Regions from separate parts of the Homo sapiens genome. Here region 2 is linked to region 1. The links are contacts of gene promoters, found by promoter capture Hi-C in human tissues and cell types (Jung and others, 2019). All regions are on one chromosome and are shown on one strand. Each heading gives the region's core, a stretch centred on a gene start or on the middle of the fragment in contact. The rest is flanking DNA. Distances are from core to core; before and after follow the strand shown.

Region 1 (4,937 bases), core at 2,395-4,894:
ATTTTTTGTATTTTAGTAGAGACGGGGTTTCGCCGTGTTGCCCAGGCTGGTCTCAAACTCCTGAGCTCAGGCAATCCACCCTCCTTGGCCTCCTAAAATGCTAGGATTACAGGCGTAAGCCACCATGCCCAACCAATTCACCTATTTTCTAGCAGTGACTTGGATCAATTGCCCAAGCACTAAGCACTTCCATTTCATCAGGCAGAAAAAGAGAATGATCCCACACTCCACCTTCTTCATAGGCCCAGCATGACTTAATCATGATGATGTACATAAAAGCCCTCCAAAAATGGAAAATCCCTATTCTAGAACTGAGTTGTTCTGTGCAATTACATTTTATAACTTTTCTTGAAGTTCTTGTGTAATTCTGCACTCAAATAACTTAAGTCAAATTTTCCTGTTGGAAAAAGCATTAAAGTAAAGGGGCCCCTACATAAAACCATGTGGCGTGTTTTCACATTAGCACTTTTTCGGCTCTTAAAACCTTCAGGTTTTTCACTTTCTCAGCATCACCTCTCTTGTGTACAAACTGCTTTCTTCCAAAAGAACAGCCTGGCATATCAGGGTGGGCTGTTCTGGGCCTTCTTCACAGCTTTCTACCACTTCTCACTTTTGTTCCCAGTTTATTGATCTGGGAACAGTTTTTTAGTACTCCCACTAGCACCAACACATAAAACGTGGGTGAAATGGTGATGCAGTTTGGCTGTGTCCCCACCCGGATCTCATCTTAAATTCCCACTTGTTGCAGGAAGGACCTGGTGGGAGGTAATTGAATCATGGGGGCAGGTCTTTCCCATGTTGTTCTCATGATAGTGAATAAGTCTCACGAAATCTGATGATTTTATAAGGGGAGTTTCCCTGCACAAGCTCTTTCTTTGCCTGCTGTCATCCATGTAAGATGTGACTTGCTCCTCCTTGCCTCCTGCCATGATTATGAGGCCTCCCCAGCCACACGGAACTGTGAGTCCATTAAACCTTCTTCCTGTGTAAATTGCCCATCTTGGGCATGTCTTTATCGGCAGCATGAAAATGGACTAATGCAAATGGCTTTGAGATATAAAAAAGTTTTAAATTACACTAAAGTCACAAGTCAGAGTTCCAATGTCTGTAAACAACAGTGCAGTTCCCATGATCCTGATGAAAACCTGCAGACATCTCTGTATACCGGCTGAGATGGTGCCACCATACAGCAACAGTGTGAGTGCAGTTTCTATCATTCACTCAGCTGCTCAGCTTTGAAATGATTCTTGACCAAAACATTCATTCATTAATTAGCAAAAAAGACTTATTTTTAATTTGAGATGTGAACTATTTCAAAACTTGCTCATAAAGTCAGGTTTGATTAATGTTATTTTATTTCATATTAGTTCCTATTTGCCCAGTTGAAATACACGTAAACACAACCTTGCTGAAAATCACTAGCATGTGGCGGACAGCGCAAAGAAAACAAAACATTTCCCAGGCAATGCTTAGAGCTCCTGATTATTTAAAAGCTCTGAGGGGAAAATAAATTTAAAGTAATGTTTGAAATGACAGTAAACAGGTGGATTTATAAAAATAAAAATATACAATGTTTAAGGTTCATTTATCTCCATACATAAAATAAATAAATAAAAGCCCTCTCTTTACTGAAGAAGACAGAACACACAAATGCAACTCCTTTCCTTTAAGAGACTTCATTAAAATGATAACAAAGGCATTTTTAAAAACAAGTAGGTCCAGATGAGGCGTAGTGGCTCATACCTGTAATTCCAGTACTTTGGGAGGCTGAGACAGGTGGATCACTTGAGGTCAGGAGTTTGAAACCAGCCTGGCCAATATGGCAAAATCATCTCTACTAAAAATACAAAAATTAGCTGGGCGTGGTGGCAGGTGCCTGTAATCCCAGCTACTCAGGGGGCTGAGGCAGGAGAATCGAGTGAACCTGGGAGGCAGAGGTTGCAGTGAGCCGAGAAGGCAACACTACACTCCAGCCTGGGTAACACAGCGAGTCCCTGTCTCAAAAACAAACAAACAAACAACAACAACAAAAAAACAGGTATGTCCAGACAATAATGTAATAATGTGGCAAACTGGAGAAGGCACATTAGCTGATGAGAGCTTTCTCCATGGTTGTGGGTAATGGAAAGCAGTGACGGCCTGGTAGTTGAGGAATTAGGGCAGAGGGGCATTAGACTAGAGTAGAAGGGGCTCCAGCCAAACAAGACTCTGCAGACCCTGGAGAGGGTCTGAAACACCAGGAACAATGGTGGGAACGTACTTGGGCAGAAAATTAAAAATAAGTGTCAATGGAATCTACCCTTTGCCCTGCCTGGCCCCGTGCCATAAGACAAAAACAAAATTGAAAACGAAAGCAAAACCTTTCCTATATCCTGATATTTAAAATTCTGGCAGTGTTTGGTGGCTCATACCTATAATCCCAGCACTTTGGGAGGCTGAGGCAGGAGGATCACTTGAGCCTAGGGGTTTGAGACCAGCCTGGCCAACACGGCGAGACCCCCATCTCTATAAAAAATAAAAAATATTAGCTGAATTTAGTGGCATGCACCTGTAGTTCCAACTACTTGAGAGGATTGCTCCTGGTGGGAGGATTGCGTTAGCCCGGGAGGTCGAGGCTGCAATGAACCATCATTATGCCACTGCACTCCAGCCTGGGCAGTAGAGCAAGACCCTGTCTAAAAAAAAAAATCCACAGAAGGTTGAAGGTAAATTTAATAAAATATCTCAAAAAACAGAATTAAAGAAATATTTAAAATATGAAAAAATATTAAAGGTCTGGAGAATCAAACTGTGAGGTCCCTATCTAAGTGACGGGAGATGCAGACATGACACAGAAAAGTAGAAGGAAGAAAGTGTCGAGGTGGTAACATAAAAATATTTCCCATGCTGCACATGCTGGCATGTGCTTGTGGTACCAGCTGCTTGGGAAGCTGAGGCAGGAGAATCACTTGAGCCCAGTAGTTCTGGGCTACAGTGAGCCATGATCATGCCACCGCACTCTGGCTTGGATGACAGAGTAAGAACCTATCTCTAAAAACATAAAAAAAAAAAATAAAATTAATTTAAAAAATAAAAATAAATCATAATTTTTTCCAAAGTTGAAAGACGCAAAAGGGCTCTCACTAGGTGCCTAGCACAGTAGATGAAAATACCTCATACAGTTCTGTGAGTTGGCTGGGCTCAGCCAGGCAGTTCTCACCTTGAGTGATGGTGCTCCCCAGCCACTGAACCTAAGAAGATAGGGTTTTCCTACCCTGTATTTTCAAGTAATGGGAATCAGAGCCAACTTCATTTTCCAGCCCTCTCCTCCTTACTTACCGCACTCCAGCTGTTACCAGTAGGGAATCTGATGTGTCTGCAGCAGCAACTCTATTCTTCCCTCCTCAGAGGAAAAAATTCGCCCAAGGGGCATAAGGTAGAGTAAGAAACCAAGATAACTTTTAGAGCAGGAGTGAAAGTTTTTAAAAAAGTTTTAGAGAGGAATGAAAGGAAGTAAAGTATACTTGGAAGAGGACCAAGCGGGTGACTTGAGAAATCCCAGTGCACTGTACAACCCTTAATGTGGGGTTTTATATGTTGGCACGGTTCTGGGATTTGCGTTTCTTCTCTCCTGATCCTTCCCTTGGAGCAGGCTGTCCACTTATGCAGTGGTCTGCCAGCACTTGGGAGTGGCCGCACTCACAGTGTGTTTACTGAAGTTGTGCGCGTGCTCATTTGAGGCATTTTTCCCTTGCCAGTCGAGAATTCCTAGAGGAAGGTCATATATTAGTTAAACTCTGACATTTTGCCCCTTAGGGCCCATGCTTGAGCCCACTTGCCCAACTCCTGAGATCTTATCAGGAAGCGGCTGACACTAGCTTCAGGTGTTTTCTATCTATTGGGAGCCGGCCTTTCCCTGGTGCTGGCTGCAACCAATGATGATTTTAGAGAAACAGTGTAACAACCACCTGACCATCACATGATGGTCGCCTGACATTCCTGGTTGGGGGTGGGGGTGGAATGCCCTCTGCTGCCCTTCTCATGTTCCCCTAGCTACCTACTCTAACACAGGTATGTATGCCTTTCTGAACTTTCTTGAATGTGTCAGACTTATTTTAACCCCAAAGACTTTTTTTTGCTATTGCCTTTGACTACAATATGACTTCCCTGTATTTTTGCATGACACATTACTCCTCACAATTCAAGTCACATCTCAAATGTCACCTCCTCAGGAAAGATGTTGTGCTGCTCATCACACCTAAAATAGCAACTTTCAGGTCGGGCACAGTGACTCATGCCTGTGATCCCAGCACTTTGGGAGGCCGAGGTGGGTGGATTACTTGAGGTTAGGAGTTCAAGACCAGCCTGGCGAACATGGTAAAACCCCCTCTCTACTAAAAAGACAAAAATTAGCCGGGCGTGGTGGCAGGTGCCTGCTATCCCAGCTATTTAGGAGGCTAAGGCAGGAGAACTGCCTGAACCCAGAGGTGGAGGTTGCAGTGAGCCAAGATCGCACCACTGCACTCCAGCCTGGGTGACAGAGTGAGACTCTATCTGGAGGGAAAGAAAAAATGCAACTTCTATTCTCCACCTATCCCTTTAGCCTATTTAAATTCTTCATAGCACTTACAATGACCAAATCCTTTTTTTTTCTTTTCTTTATTATCTGTCTCCTCCATGAGAGTAGGGACTTTGTCTTATTCATCATTATACAGATGGTTCTGGAGCCACCCAACAAGTTCTTCTTCCCCACTGCACAGACAAAAATCAATTCACTGAGACCATGGCATTGCAATAGAGAAAGAGTTTAACTGCCGCGAGGCTGAGCCCACGTGGGAGAACTGGAGTTATCCCTCAGATCAGTCTCCCTGTAGGCTCGGAACAAGGGTTTTTATGGACAATTTGGTTGTCAGGGGGTAGGGGGATAGTGCCGCTGATTGGTTGGGGATGAAATCATA
Region 2 (4,997 bases), core at 395-2,894, 1.1 Mb after region 1:
AATAACAACTATAATCAAGATATCTTTTTTCAATATTTTAAAATAAAGACGATACTTTGAAAAAGGATCAACAGTGATATATAATTAATGAATAAATTTCCATCATAATTTGTAGTAGTCTATAAGCCTGAAAATAACTGTACTTTCCAAAAGATGTGAAAATCACTTTGATCTTTACACAGTATATAATTTCACAAAAACATTATTTCCATTCTCCAAGATAAGACTGACTTGACAACTGAGACTTAATAACCTCTGTCACTTTACAATGGAAGTTCTTACAGCCAACAAGTCAAGGGGGTATAATAATAAAGGCACACAAGGTTGGACTTGTACTGAAAAAAAAAAAAAATTCCAAAAAATAATATCTACTTGGCTCATGGATATGATCAAGAAACACAAAATTTTACTCTCTTTGATGTATACAGGAGGTGCACTGTTTTAACATCAAGAGATTAATCTTGGGCTTATACTTTTTATGCCTCTTATTATAACCATATTTTAAACTTCCTCAAAGCAAGGAGTATCATTAACTATATACCTTGGCTGGTATTTGCCACATCAAGCTTTATAAAATAATTTTGAAGAAAAATATAACATTATTGTGAGACAGAAACTCACCTGGTTCCTCATTTGAAGTGGTAAAAATGTTATTATAAGATCTTCGAACACGTAAAGTTATACAACCATTTTCATGTAGACAAAATAAACCATCACGCTGAAAGCAGGGTATTACCTTTAAATAGATGATATATTTATTTTTTAAAACACAATAGATTAATAAAGTATATACTGTGAAACTCAAACTCATATTTAGATAATATGGGCAAAAGAAAAAAAAATAGACAAATCCCAAACTTTAAAACTAAATGTACATTTAAAATATCCATTTATAATCCTAAAATAATTTGTCTTTACCCATGTGACTTAAATAGTTCAATAAATATCTCAGGATCAGTCACAATTTCTAGGGTAAATCAAACCAATCAAAAGTGCAGACAAAAAAAACAATCTAAAATAGTGTTGCTAGTCTTTTGATAAATTGAAAAGAGAAAGTGGAGAACTGAAGACAAGACTTATGCAAGATTATGGCCTTCTTTTAATATAACATTCTTAATAATTTTGGGGAATATAATTTATGAATTGTAGATACCTGTAAAAATGGAACTCCTGTGCGTTCTATTGCAATCACACCCACCGTCTGATTCACCTCAAGGTCAAGGATTAAAATCTCTCGAGGATAGAGCAACAACATGTGATTCCTTTTTGAAGGCAGGTATGCCAACTGAAGGCAATCATTGAGAGTTATGAATTCAGCACTGAAAAAAGTAAACATTCACTTGGGTCAAAGACTTCATTTATATCAGACCTAATAAAAGATTTAATTTTGTACTTTACACATAAAAATTGACAATAAAAATGTACAACTATTCCCTGAAGTGACCAACATGGGTTGGCATCCAAAACTTAGATCTCTACTATGTACCAAAATCCAAATGCTAATAATATTGTATAGGATGGGTAGAAATGTCAGTGTTTCTAAGTTTTTGAAATATTAAGTAGTAGAATATTAAGTTATTAATATTACACAAGACATGGTAAATGATAATATAATAATAGCTGGCATGCATAAGACAGTTTTATTTTACTTTTACTTTGTCATTAAAAGTACTAGGCAAACTGTTAAAATCAAGACTCAGGATGAAAAACATCAACATTTAGGGTAATTAGGGCCCCTGGACCAGGAGTTACTGGACTATCTGTATGGCTTTGGGCAAGTAACTTCCCCTTGGCTGCCTTCATTCACTTTTAAGCTGTCTTAAATCTTTTTTGAAACAAAGTTTCACTTATATTGCAGCATTTTCTTGTGTGTAAATAAAACAGGTGAAACTATAAGGATTTTAAGAGATTGTTAGGGTCTGAAAAATCATTTTAATAATTTGTGATTGTTGCATACATTCAATGACCTTTTCTATATTAAATATATTTCAATAGGAATAGACATACAATTATGTACTATTTTCATTTTACATTTCATTTTACAAACATAATTTTATTAAAAGGCTTTGAAATTTAAAATAAAGTTAGTTCACAAGACTAGAAAGAGGAATTTTTATTGCATTAAAATCCCGACTGCCATGTCCTAGTTGGGTGAGCTTGAGTAACTTTATTTAAATTGGTGTGGGACTCAGTTTTCCTTATTTGTAAAATGGGAATATTACTACTGCCAGAATTGTAGTAAGAGTCCAGGAATTAATAGATGTGAAAGCACCCAGAGCGGTTCTACTTGAAGAAATAATGTATTTCCCCAATACTCAAGATATACATATAATTCATATGAGAGAAAACTTAAGAAATATAAAACATAACTTATAAAACTATTCAGACTGCCAAATAATTTCTTGTTTATGAGAGGGAATACATAAAAAATAGAAAGTTCTCTTAAGATACTTAAGAAGTAATCTTAAGTCATTTTGGCACAGGGTGAGAGATAAATTAACTAGTGAACTTAACCAGCCTATGGCTTAATATATAGAAGTGATACTTACACACAAGTGCAAAATGTATTTGTAGAGCAATTTATATTTTTACCACATATTTTTCAAGTAGTTACTCACCAAGCCTAGAGAGAGTAATCTTGGCATATTAAAAATAAAGGCTATCTGAAAATGAATGCCAAAACAAACAAAAAAGCCTGCCAAAGCAATAATATACAGATTATTGCTATAGGAAAAAGAAAGAAACCTATTTTGAATACATCAAATTACTTAAAATAAACTTTTATTCAGTTGTAATTTCTTAATAACAGCCGACATCTTCTAAATAAATTACTATGTATCAATGACATTACATGCTTTACTTACATTATTGGATCTATTGATCTTTAAAACAACCCTATGAAATACTTTAAAGCCTTATTTTAGAGACTGGGAGAGAGAAATTTGAGTAAGATTAAAGAAGTTTCTCAGTCTCATAGCTAAAGCTTCCCCCGGAGCCTTGGCTCTTAACCAGGATGGGAGACATCTTCACCTGCATAAGAAAAACACTCCGATTTTACTGCTGAATGAGAATGCACAGCACCTAAGTCAGGAAAATGTATTTAAAATGAGTATCCAGCTTTTGTGCCCAAATTTTTAATGCATTCAATTGCCTGAACTTTAGGATCATTGCGATTTTCACAAGTAAAAATCAGAATTCAAAAATTTTAATCTATAAAAGTCAGTGGGGAAGTTTAGCACAGCTAGTGGAAACAAAGGCAATGTTAAATGCTGAATCTCCTCTTAGGGCAGGGGACAAAAATAAATATTTTTTTCCTCTAATAAATTCAAAATTAGAAATGAGAAAAAGTGAGATGAAGAAAAACATCAGTCTTTGTACATCTCCAAAAATGATGCTTTCATACCAGATAAGTAGATGAATGTTAATTTTACACTTGTAACTTACCTAGGTTTCTCTTGAGTGATTAAAATTTTTACTTTATTTAGAGCTTTCTTGGCACCTGTGGCTGTGGCCAGCTTGTTATGAGCTGGGCTAGAGTGTGGGCTGGATATGTAAACTTTTTTCCCAGGGCCTGAGGGAGGCTTGGATGGGGAGAAGTCTGAGATGAAAACAATACCCTCGCTGGTAAGCACTATATTGAGAAAAGCAAAACTCTGATTAAAGTTTAATGAAGTTTAGCATACAGTTTTATTCCAATACAATTTTGAGAGCAATATAGTGATAATTTTAATAATATATAACTGGCAATGTTATGCATTCATAACATAATGGGAATGTTCTCTAAGTTGAAGAGAAACAGGTGGTCCATTACAATTCATCAGAGGCCTCCAAGCTTGGCATTCTATATTATGTCTTATATTAAAAAGATAACATAAGGTTATTGGCAGAAAGAACAAGTGTTTGTTCTTCTAAATAAATTCAGGGCACGGACTTTCATTAAAAATCTTTCCTTATTATCCCAGCACTTTGGGAGGCAGAGGCAGGCAGATCATGAAGTCAGGAGTTCGAGACCAGCCTGATCAACATGGTGAAACCCCGTCTCTACCAAAAATACAAAAATTAGCCAGGCGTGGTGGCACACACCTGTAATCCCAGCAACTCAGGAGAGTGAGGCAGGAGAATCGCTTGAACTGGGAGGTGGAGGTTGCAGTGAGCCGAGATAGTGCCACTGCACTCCAACCCGGGTGACAGAGCAAGATTCCATCTCAAAAAAAAAAAACAAAAACAAAAACAAAAAACAAACAAACAAAAAAACTTTAACATATCCCATAACTTAAAAAAACAAAAAACCATACTTAAGAGGCTCTGCATATCACAATTAGCTAAGTTCATATATTTTATTTGATGATACCAAATTTTTATCCTGAGCTACTCAGTCTAAATATATTCCCTTTTTCTTCTCAAGCATCAGATCGAACCTTAAGATGATTAAGGAATATTCTTTTCCCTTAATATTTAGAAAACAGTAGTGGGCCCACAGTGACTTACTAAGTGTACATGAAACAAAAATAGTCAAGGAGGGAGCACCATATTTAGCAATACAAATTATGCCTTTTTATGACTGAAAAAATAATCTCCCTCAACAATGGGCCTAATACTGGAAGACATGAGCAGAAAAACCTTACTACCCTGGGTCCCAGCCCTTAGCAAGGCTGCTCTAAACACAGGGAAAAAGGATGCATTCAAGAGTTATGACAACCCTAGCACATTCAATATGAGTAAATCAAAGATGTTAGGTCAACTGACACTCTGGAACACACAATGCTTTCATCAACCAAATTACAGAGATGTAAAGAGCTGATGCAATCAAGTTAGCTGAAAGCCTTGTTGCCTTTTCAGGTTCCAGAACTCATCCTTCAAGGTCCCCTTTGCTTCCTTCTTTTGTGATGCCCTCCTTCCCTGACTCTGCCAACTGGGCCAGCCCTCCTAGGTGTTTCCCCAGCACTGCACCTATGTGAGTAAGTAAACTGGTGACCAAGTGAGTGTATGTATGCACA

Evidence for each region. Contacts are between HindIII fragments. The study calls those that stand out against the background at their distance.
Region 2: a contact is called between a fragment that was not itself captured here and the fragment with the promoter of TACC2 in region 1, in 1 of the 25 tissues and cell types used here (dorsolateral prefrontal cortex).

What each region holds. Positions count from the first base shown.
Region 1 is chr10:121,987,870-121,992,806 of GRCh38, reverse strand. TACC2 (transforming acidic coiled-coil containing protein 2) reads right to left here and starts at 3,644. Exons shown (of 23, transcript NM_206862.4): 1 at 3,319-3,644. The HindIII fragment of the contact is 30,860 bases long and covers 1-4,937 here.
Region 2 is chr10:120,861,369-120,866,365 of GRCh38, reverse strand. It overlaps WDR11 (WD repeat domain 11), which reads right to left. Exons shown (of 29, transcript NM_018117.12): 5 at 3,445-3,631; 6 at 1,154-1,319; 7 at 622-736. Among named protein-coding and RNA genes, the nearest start is that of WDR11, 13 kb to the right of the region's middle. The HindIII fragment of the contact is 3,529 bases long and covers 1-3,408 here.